2 separate regions of the Homo sapiens genome follow, and region 1 is linked to region 2. The links are contacts of gene promoters, found by promoter capture Hi-C in blood cells and fetal thymus (Javierre and others, 2016). All regions are on one chromosome and are shown on one strand. The core of a region is centred on a gene start or on the middle of the fragment in contact, and the rest is flanking DNA. Distances in the headings are between cores, read along the strand shown. Region 1 holds the start of LOC124904002 (a long non-coding RNA gene). Region 2 holds the start of KRTAP17-1 (keratin associated protein 17-1).

Evidence for each region. Contacts are between HindIII fragments. The CHiCAGO score rates a contact against its expected background, and 5 or more counts as called.
Region 1: a fragment that was not itself captured here is called in contact with the fragment with the promoter of KRTAP17-1 in region 2 in 3 of 17 cell types (non-activated CD4 T cells, total CD4 T cells and naive B cells); the score reaches 5.7 in non-activated CD4 T cells.

Annotation. Positions count from the first base shown.
Region 1 is chr17:41,106,481-41,111,526 of GRCh38, forward strand. LOC124904002 (a long non-coding RNA gene) reads left to right here and starts at 1,752. Exons shown (of 2, transcript XR_007065754.1): 1 at 1,752-1,899; 2 at 3,524-5,046. KRTAP4-9 (keratin associated protein 4-9) reads left to right here. Exons shown (of 1, transcript NM_001146041.1): 1 at 1-8. The HindIII fragment of the contact is 4,149 bases long and covers 898-5,046 here.
Region 2 is chr17:41,312,732-41,317,267 of GRCh38, forward strand. KRTAP17-1 (keratin associated protein 17-1) reads right to left here and starts at 2,979. Exons shown (of 1, transcript NM_031964.2): 1 at 2,181-2,979. The coding sequence starts at 2,919. The coding sequence ends at 2,602. The HindIII fragment of the contact is 4,540 bases long and covers 1,907-4,536 here.

The DNA.
Region 1 (5,046 bases), core at 1,722-4,221, 210 kb before region 2:
CATAAGAATTCATTGGTATCATTCTCTATTGCTTTCATAATTATTTTACTGATTCCCTGACAATTATATTTTACACAAAGACGCAGGAAAAGCAACCCGTGTTGAAATCACTTTGAAAATACATGCTATATCGAATATAGATAATTTACGGTATTGGAATAGAAGTGCTGTGTGTATATGTGTGTGTATGTGTGTGTGTGTGTGTGCACATGTGTCTTAATATCCTAAATTAAGACAGTTTTAATTCATACCTTAGCTCTTGAAACACATTTTATCTTTAACACATTATATCTCATAATACTATCGTCCCTGTTTTGACAAAAAAGATAAAACCAAATTTCTGAAAATTAGACACCAATGAAAGAAGGGAAATCTTCTATAAAGAATTTCATGTACTGAATTCATTTTACTCAATAACAACATTTTGGAATTTATAATCAAAAAGTGGGCTTTATTTCCCAGTGAGTTCTGCTGAGACAAAAAAGCATATTGAGCTGTAGTTCATCTGGATAGCATGGTATATTGCTGACTGTGGTCTCTACGGGTTTACATTATAATTTAAACAACTCCACACTTAACATTTTAATATATATAAACCCAGAAAGGATGAAAATTTCAAGGCTCGCTTTTCTTTTTAAGAATTATTTTATTGGAATTAGTTCAGTCTTGAGTAGGTCGCAGCTGGGGTGCATATCCTAATTAGAATTTCCAAGAGAGGTGCCTTCATTTGAATCTGAAAGAATATGGTAAGTGACTATAACTTGGCATTCTAGTAGGAGCACCTGCTCTTGATGTTTTTACTTTTATTTGACTATTATCAGCTCTGAAATGGCCTTAAGCTATTGAGCCAATCAAGTTTAAGATGATTTGTTCAGATATGTTCAAATATGAAAAATAAGCTTCATATTTTTTCAGATGCCTTAAGAAAAATGTTGTCCAGATCTCAGTCATAGAGTTATGATGCCTTCTTAAACATGAGGCAGGATAAATAAGGTTAGGAGGCTGTGAAAGTAAAATAAATATTGGGGCCCCCAAATCACTAAGCTAAAGGGAAAAGGCAAACTCGGAACTGCTTAGGACAAACTTGCCTCTCATTCTATTCAAAGTCACCCCTCTGCTCACTGAGATAAATGCACTGATTGCCTCCTTGGGAAAGGCTAATCAGAAACTCAAAAGAAGGCAACCATTTGTCTCTTATATACCTATGATCTGGAAGCCCCCTCCCAGCTTCGAGTTGTCCCGCCTTTGCTTCGAGTTGTCTTGCCTTTTCTGGACCAAATCCGTGTTCATCTTACATATGTTGATTGATATCTCATGTCTCCCTAAAATGTATAAAACAAAAGTGTTATCTGACCACCTTACACACATGTCATCAGGACTTCCTGAGGCTGTGTCACCGGAGCATCCTCAACCTTAGCAAAATAAACTTTCTCAATTAACTGAGACCTGTCTCAGATTTTCTGGGTTAACATTTTGGTAACTGTGAAAGGATTCTGAGTGGAGATGCCCTTGACCTTTGACGAATATCCTGTTGGTGCCTGGTAATAGCATGAGCTAACTTTATGGCTCAAATCAATAGGACAATTTGCTGAGGTCTGGGAGCACCCTCCCCAAAGAATCCCTGATCTCCCCAAATTTGGTGAAGAACTAAAGTTCATTTTGCTGTACAACTGCCCCACCTATTTTTGTTTTTGGAGTTTTACTTGCTTACTTGCCTTCCTTATAAGGAAGGCAAGATTTACTTTTACTTCCTTTACAAGGAAGGCAAGATTTCCTGCTTCCATGATGATGAAAGGCATGTAGAGTTTGAGCTCACTCCCAGCAGGGAAGACCAGTTTGAGTTTTTTTCCTGCTTCTAGGGTGGTAGAAAGCAGCCTTCAGCCTGAGACCCATCCCTAGGTAAGTAGCTGAACTGGGGCTTTGTCTGGGCTAAAGTTTAACAACCAGCTAGCTGCTCTTAATTTCTCCTTATCATTAGAGTGCTTGGTAATCCTATGGTTGGAGATTTTGTTGTTTGTTTTGGTCTTTCTCCCATCAGACTTGACCAACTCTACCTGACTTGGTCAAATCCAAGTGAGAATTCAAAATTACGGGTAACAAAACCTCTCTAATTTGGCTAAAATTCATTGCAGCTGCAAAAGAAGAAAACAAACAAAAAGAACCAAAAACCCATGCACTTGGTTTCTGTGTTTGCTTCCTGTCTTAAAACACGAATGTTCTTTCGTTTACTTTTCTTGCACCATATACCTCCTCCCCCTTTGCCATATGCAGTACCAAAAAGTCTAGAGAAGGCTTCTAATGACTTGAACCCCCTTAAAGAATTCAGAACAAAGGTTGCCACTCACCCCTTTTGGGGTGTTTTGTTTTCTTTGTGGAGTTTCAAGAGTCATGGGTAGATTCTTCTTAACTCTAAACCTCTATTTTCCTGTATTGCATGACCTGACCTCTTTGGCTTTGACCTTGTTGTGTATAGTGGTAGATGAGAGCTACAAAGTTAAGGGGTGGCTGAGCAAGGTTTACAAAAAGTGGTCTTGGCTGTTGTTTTGTTTTCCTTCTAGGAATTTGTCGTTTAAAGATCCTAATTCTAGTTCACAAATGCATTCTAAAGGATCTTCTCTGTTGCTTTTTCTCCCCAAATTAAGCTCAATTCAGCTTGTCTGTGTGCATTTGCATGAGGAACTGAACTGTTGTTTTCAGTGGTGACCCACTGTGGAGTCCTGCCCACAAATGGCACATATTGATCCACCACAGAAAACCTCTAGGCCTCAGCTCAGTTCCTCTTTTTAAGAAGAAAACTGGGAAACAAATAATCTAAGAATGAGGAGAAAGCAAAGAGAATGATTCCCTTTCAAGCACTCCATAGGTTTTATGGCACCTGTACTTGCCAGAGTTTAAGTAAAATGGAAGTAATATGGTCTTTGTGCATATTTACATTAAGAAAGAAAGGGCCCATGTAAATTAGTTCAACCATTGTGGAAGACAGTATGGTGATTCCTCAAGGATCTAGAATCAGAAATACCATTTGATCCAGCAATCCCATTACTTGTTATATACCCAAAGGAATACAAATCATTCTACTATAAAGACACAGGCACATGTATGTTTATTGCAGCACTATTTACAAGAGCAAAGACATGGAACTAACCCAAACGCCCATCAATTATAGACTTGATAAAGAAAATGTGGTACATATACACCATGGAATACGATGCAGCCATAAAACGGAGTGAGATCATGTCCTTTGTAGGGACATGGATGAAGCTGGAAACCATCATCCTCAGCAAACTAACACAGAAACAGAATACCAAATACAACATGTTCTCACTCATATATGGGAGTTGAACTTTGAGAACACATGGACACAGAGAGGAGAGCAACACATATCAGGGGCTGTTGGGGGGTGGGGAATGAGAGGAGGGAATTTAGAGGATGGGTCAATAGGTGCAGCAAACCACCAAGGCACACATATACCTATGTAACAAACCTGCACGTTCTCCTGCATGTGTATTTCATTTTTTTTTAGAAGAGAAAGAAAAGAAGGAAAGAAAGCAAGCAAGCAAGAAAGCAAGCAAGCAAGAAAGAAAGAAAGAAAGAAAGAAAGAAAGAAAGAAAGAAAGAAAGAAAGAAAGAAAGAAAAGAAAAAGAAAGAAAAGAAGAGCCTTAAGGTCAACCTACAAACTACAGAGTTCCTAAGTTCTCTTTTTTCTCTATTTTCTTTTCTGCCTGCTTTAAATCTGCTGTTATTTTTCTATTAAGATCAAAACCACTGTTTGGATACAACAGGCTTTTTGTTTGCAACCTGGTGAATTTGTATTTGTCTCATGGCTAAAGTTCTGAAGTAAAAGCTATAGGATTTCTGTGTGTGTGTTTGTGTGTGTGTGTGTGTGTGTGTGTGTATCTATTTAAAAGGCCTTTATAATTTTTATAATTTTATGTTTAATTGGCAATTAAATCCATTTTGACTTCCCTCTAGCACCACCAGACTTTTTCTCTCTGTACCTTATGATATAATTTTGCTATTTGATTTTTGCCTGAGTTGTTTCCTTTAACATGCAAACTTAAGGCTATTTAGCTGACAACTCCCTAGGGGAGTAAAACAGGTTATTAAGAATTTGAAAGCCTAAGATAGGGGAAAAAAGCTCCTTAAGTATCTATACGATGTACTTCTATCAGCATGCCTACTATGTCTATATATTTATGTGATGTGTACACAATTTCTCGCTACTGAAAATATATAAAAGAGTTCTAATTAATTGGCTTAAGATAAAAAGCACTTGAATCTAATACTTTATCAGGAAAAAAGAAAAGACTAGTTGAATGCTTTCTGAAGTTTATGTAACAAGTAAAATCTTTAATAAATAAGCTAGCTTTAAAATTATTGGTAAAGTAATATTAGACATGTCTTAAAAATTGCCAGCATGCATTTTTGTTTGCATTTATTAATCAAGCAATTTCATGCTTATCCCTGTCAAATACCATAAGGTGTCAAAATTTGCCATGGAGTTACAAAACTGTAATAGAATGATCTTTGCTTGTATAATCTTTAATAAATAAGACATTGATATTGGTTTAATAAAAATAGTCACATCTTGAATTTAGTGAGATTACTGTAACTTCTAATTTTGTGGTTTTGGTGGTCTAGTCCACAGGCAGTAAGATTTAGTTTGAGAATGAACTGTTATAATCTTTGTTTCAAAGGTAAACTATAAACTATGTTCCTCTCAACGTCTGTTCAGCCTGTGCCCAGGATTGAACAAGAACAGTTTGGAGGTTAGAAGCAAGATGGAGTCAATTAGGTCAGATCTTTTTCACTGTCTCAGTTATAATTTTGCAATGGCAGTTCCATAACTTTAAATGATGACTATTGCAGTTTTCATAAATAATCTAGGTAAACAATTCCTTTTTAAAAAGGTGAACAATTGTCATCTAATTCAATGCTTATTTAAAGATTATGTATAAGACAAGTTAAAAGGAACCAGGAAATCAGAGAGATGTAAAGAAAGGTATAAAAATAAAGAGGATAAAGAGGGTTCTTTTTGGTAAGGA
Region 2 (4,536 bases), core at 1,729-4,228:
AATCACTACCGCCACACATGCATCCAGGAGGCATGACCGTGCGCAATAGAATAATCAGCTGCTCTGAATCACAACTACTCAGTGCAGATTCACTGGTCTCTGGACAAGTGTGTCCCATTGGCAGCTCCTGCTTTGGCGGTGGCTTTGTCTTAGGGGTTAAAGAGCCAGTTCCTAGGAAGCCAGTTCCAGCCAGAGTGAAAATGGCTCAAATAGTAGAGTCCGAAACTGAACCAAGGCAGAGTCAAATCTCAGGTTCTCTCCAAAAGAAGACATTAATAATACTGCTGGGTTCATAAATGAAAGAAAAAAATGAAAACACAATGAGCTACCACTATACACCTGCTGGAATGGCTAGAAATAAAAAGACTGATAATATTAAGTGTTACCAAGGACATAGACACTGGAACTCTCAGACATTGCTGGTTGGAATACAAAATGCTGTGGCCACTTTGCAAAACAACTCGGCAGTTTCACATAAGGTTAAGCATTCACTTACCATTTAAACAGCCATCCAATTGCTAAGTATTTATCCAAAACAAAGCATATGTTCACCAAAAAAAAAAAATTGTACGAGAATGCTCATAGCAGCTTCATTCATAATAGCCAGAAACACAAAAGAATCCAAATGCCCATAAGTAGGTGAATATATTTTTAATGTAGTTTATCTGTATAATGGGATGCCATTCAGTAGAAAAAAAAATGAATTATTGATACCTGCAACAATGAACAGATACAAAACATGATAGGCAAAATGAAAAATAGTGCATACTGCATGATTTCTTTTATATGAAATTCTAGACATGGTGAAATCTGTAGTAACATAAAGAACAGGTTGATGGTTGCCAGGGTCTGGGGGTGGGGGAAGAACTGACTGCAAAGACAAACTGGGAATTTTGGGGGTGATGGAAAGTTCCATAAAGATCTTGAGTGCAGTGGTGGTTACATAAGTATACACGAATGTCAGATCACATCATACTGTTCACTAAAAATGGGAACTTTTTATTATATGTAAATTATATTTCAATAAAGTTGACCATAAAAAATGAAACAAAAAAATTTTTTAAAGAAAAAGGTAAAAGCAACATAATCCCAGTTTTATTCATAACTATGCTTAGAAAACAGTCTGGAAAGCTTATCAGTAATAGACTCTGAGTGGTGAGCCTTCGAATGCTATATTCTTTATATGTTTCTGTATTTTTTCATTTTTTAGAGTTCATTGCTATGCTTATAATCAGAAAAAAATTTTTCTTTGTCAAATGAAACATCGCTTTGTAGGCATAAAAATAAATACTATTTTTCCAGGGCAAGAGCAAAATTAGTTTTATTACACACACAGCTTAAGGTCACTTTCAACAAAAGGTTGATCAACTGTCTTTTGAGTTTTAACCTCCCAGGTGGACCCACACACCTTGGCTGGGCCCTACCTAGCAGAGGTATACTCACTCCCTCCTCCTTAGAACTCAGGCAGAAGAAACGTAGCTGGTTCCAGGTAAGACAACCTAGCACAGAAAAGTGAGACTGGACCAAGCATGAGGCTGGAAGAAGGAACTGTACTGCGCAGAACATCCTCAGAAACTGTGAATTCACTAGCTTTGCCATTAGAAATCCTTTCCATTCAGAACCAATCTTGTTTTACCAAAGCCTCCTTTCCGACTTTGCCAGAAAGTTCTGATCAAGCCTGAAGCCCTCCTGCAGAACCATCCTAGGAGAGCTGTAGTGCAGAAGAAAGCCATGCCCCTCAATCACCATTAAATGTGGCCAGCATCAGCATTCACCCAGGAGCTTTTAAAAATGCAGGTCCCTAGGGACTCTAGGCCCTAGAGCTAACGGGTAAAATCTCCAGTGATAAAACCCAATGATCTATATTTTTAAAAGCTTTTCAAGTGAATCTCATGCAGCACACGGAAGCTTCCGTCTAGATCTATGGTTCTCAAACTTCAGTGCATAAGAATTATCTAAGGTTCTTGTTAAAAACACAGATTCCCAGGCCACACTTTGGTGGATTCTGATTCTGTATGTCTTAGGGAGGGCCTCAGAGTCTCCAGTTTTAACAAGCTCCCAGGTGATTCCGACGCAGGTGATCCAAAAACCACAATTCAAAAACCCTAAGGCAGATGCCAGAGTGAATTTTTCTAACCCAGTCCTCAGCAGGGAGGTCAAGGAAGAGGCAAGAGAACTAATTAGGTTATGCCAGCATGCTCAAATTTATTAAGAGGCTCACAAAGAAGATGGACCTTTTTTGCATCTCAAAGCTGCAGAAAGCCAGGGCGGAGGATCAGTCCCAAAGACACCTTGAAGAAGAGGATGTCTTATAGTACAAGACATTGAACTTCATGTGAATAAGTAAAGTATTGGGGATTCACCCTTGAGCTTGGGATCACTTAGTTGTGACCGAGTTTTAATGTTTCATCAGAGTATGGCTCTTGTTCTCGGTGCCTTGAAATACCAGAGAAGGTGTTGGAGAACAAGCCCTCCTCTACAAATCACAGAAAGACAAGACACTGTCTTGGGGGTATGGAAGGTTCTGGACACGAGGGGCTGTCCCCCTGGAGCAGATGGAGGCTTTCGGTGGGACTGCATCAGTGGTGGAGGGAAAGGTCTTCATTTTGTGTCGCATATAGGTGTGGGCTGGCAGCACACAGGCCCACAGCACCCGGAGCCGCAGCAACTGGACCCACAGCAACTGGATCCACAGCAGCCACCCCCGCAGCCTCCGCAGCCTCCACAGCCTCCGCAGCCAGATCCACAGCAAGACGATCCGCAGCAGCTGCCCCCGCAGCCAGAGCCCCCGCAGCCAGAGCCCCCACAGCCACAGCAGGAGCCGCAGCAGCCACAGCAGCCCGGCTGACAGCAGCACTCTTCACAGCAGTTTTGCTCCTGGGTGCAGCAGGTGAAGCAGTCCCCCGGGCAGCACCCCATGGTCCGGGCCCGTCAGCTCGCAGGTCGGTAACGCAGCCGGAGTTCCCCACGACTGACGGTGGCCAGCCATCTGGATGGCAGCTTTTATATCCCCTCACCCAGGCATGAGGGACGGGATGTTTTCTTTGTTATTATTTATGCAAGTTTCCATAAGACCGGCTCATTAACTGGCTGTTTATTTTCCAGTCCTGAGTACCTCAACTCATAAAAACGCCCCACTCCTGCCAACTGCTGTTTATCCAGAGGGTAAAAATACATCTTCGAAAAGACCTGTCATCATGGCCAAGCATCTGCCAGCTGTCATTAGCCCAGGTTGGAGATGGGAAGGGGAAGCCGGCCACAGCTTCTGGCTCTGGAATGAGGGGCTTGCCTTCCACATCTTCGCAGGTTGGCGATGGACCCCATCTTCCATGGATGCTAGTCCTGGAAAGGCAGACCGGCAACAGCCGAATGCTCTGTTCCCCCTGACACCAGTGGAGGCTACTGAGAACGCCTGGTCACGTGGCTCCTCCCAGGTGGAAATGGCATCCTCATCCCGGTTCATGTGAGCCAGGCAAATGTTTGTGTCTGTGTGTGGTATGGGGAGTGTGCCACACGTTTAGGCTTGGCCGGTGAGCATCAGTCATGAGTAATAACTGCCCTGTGAAACCGAGAGAGACTCATCGTAAAGCTGCAAGAAGCTGGTAAGGCATGGTCTGTCTCGGCGGCAAGGTGAGCTGAATATTCGCACTTCTCTCTAAATAGGTGGGAAGAACTGAGATCAGAACCCTCTACCCACCCCCACTCCAGCCCCAGGCCTTTCCTTGACCGGGGAAGGAAGAGATGCAGGAGGAGGAAGAAGAGGAGAAGGGGAGGAAGAAAGGAAAGAAGAAAAGAAAGAAGAAAGCAGGAAGGAGATCAGTAAATATCCAAAATGCTACATTAAAATGGGAATGTAACGCACTTTTTTTAAGAGTTCGAACCTTATAGACCATCTGGCAGAAGGAGAAATTAGAATACAAAATACCCAGAGTGTCATCCCAAGGAATAAAATGCCTTTGCAAGGAGTCTAAAATCTACAGATGGTTCAGGTCCATGTGTAAATTTTGAGATGGGTCAAAATTTCTGTCTCTTTCTTGGACTTTGGTACCTTGTTCTCCTCTTGGAGTGCCCATGGCAGCCCTGGAGCTGGAATACAACATCTAGTAGGGGTAGAGGACAGAAGATAGGGGTGGGGTGGGAATGGAAGGAGGGATGGGAGTAAGGATCTGGATCAAGGGATCTAGTCCTTCCCTTTTCATTTCCCTTTCTTTGTAAGATGGGCTAGAAGTAAGACAGCCTCTAAGAAGGGCTAGAAGAACTAAGGACAGGGTGGGAGTCGGGAGGGTAAATGATGAATGAGTTACTTGGATCTGATATGATACTCAATACTTCACAGGATATGGAATTTTAGAGCTGGGAGGAACCCCTGAAACATCATCTGGTCCAGGGTTTTATATCAGAATTGCCTAAAAGGGGGCCTTTTGAAAAATACAGATTCCCAAACTGTATTCCAGTCCTTATGATAAATCAGAATGTGTGCTTATGAGAGCTTGAGAAGCTATATATTTTAAACTTTCTCAGGTAACTTGGGTTACA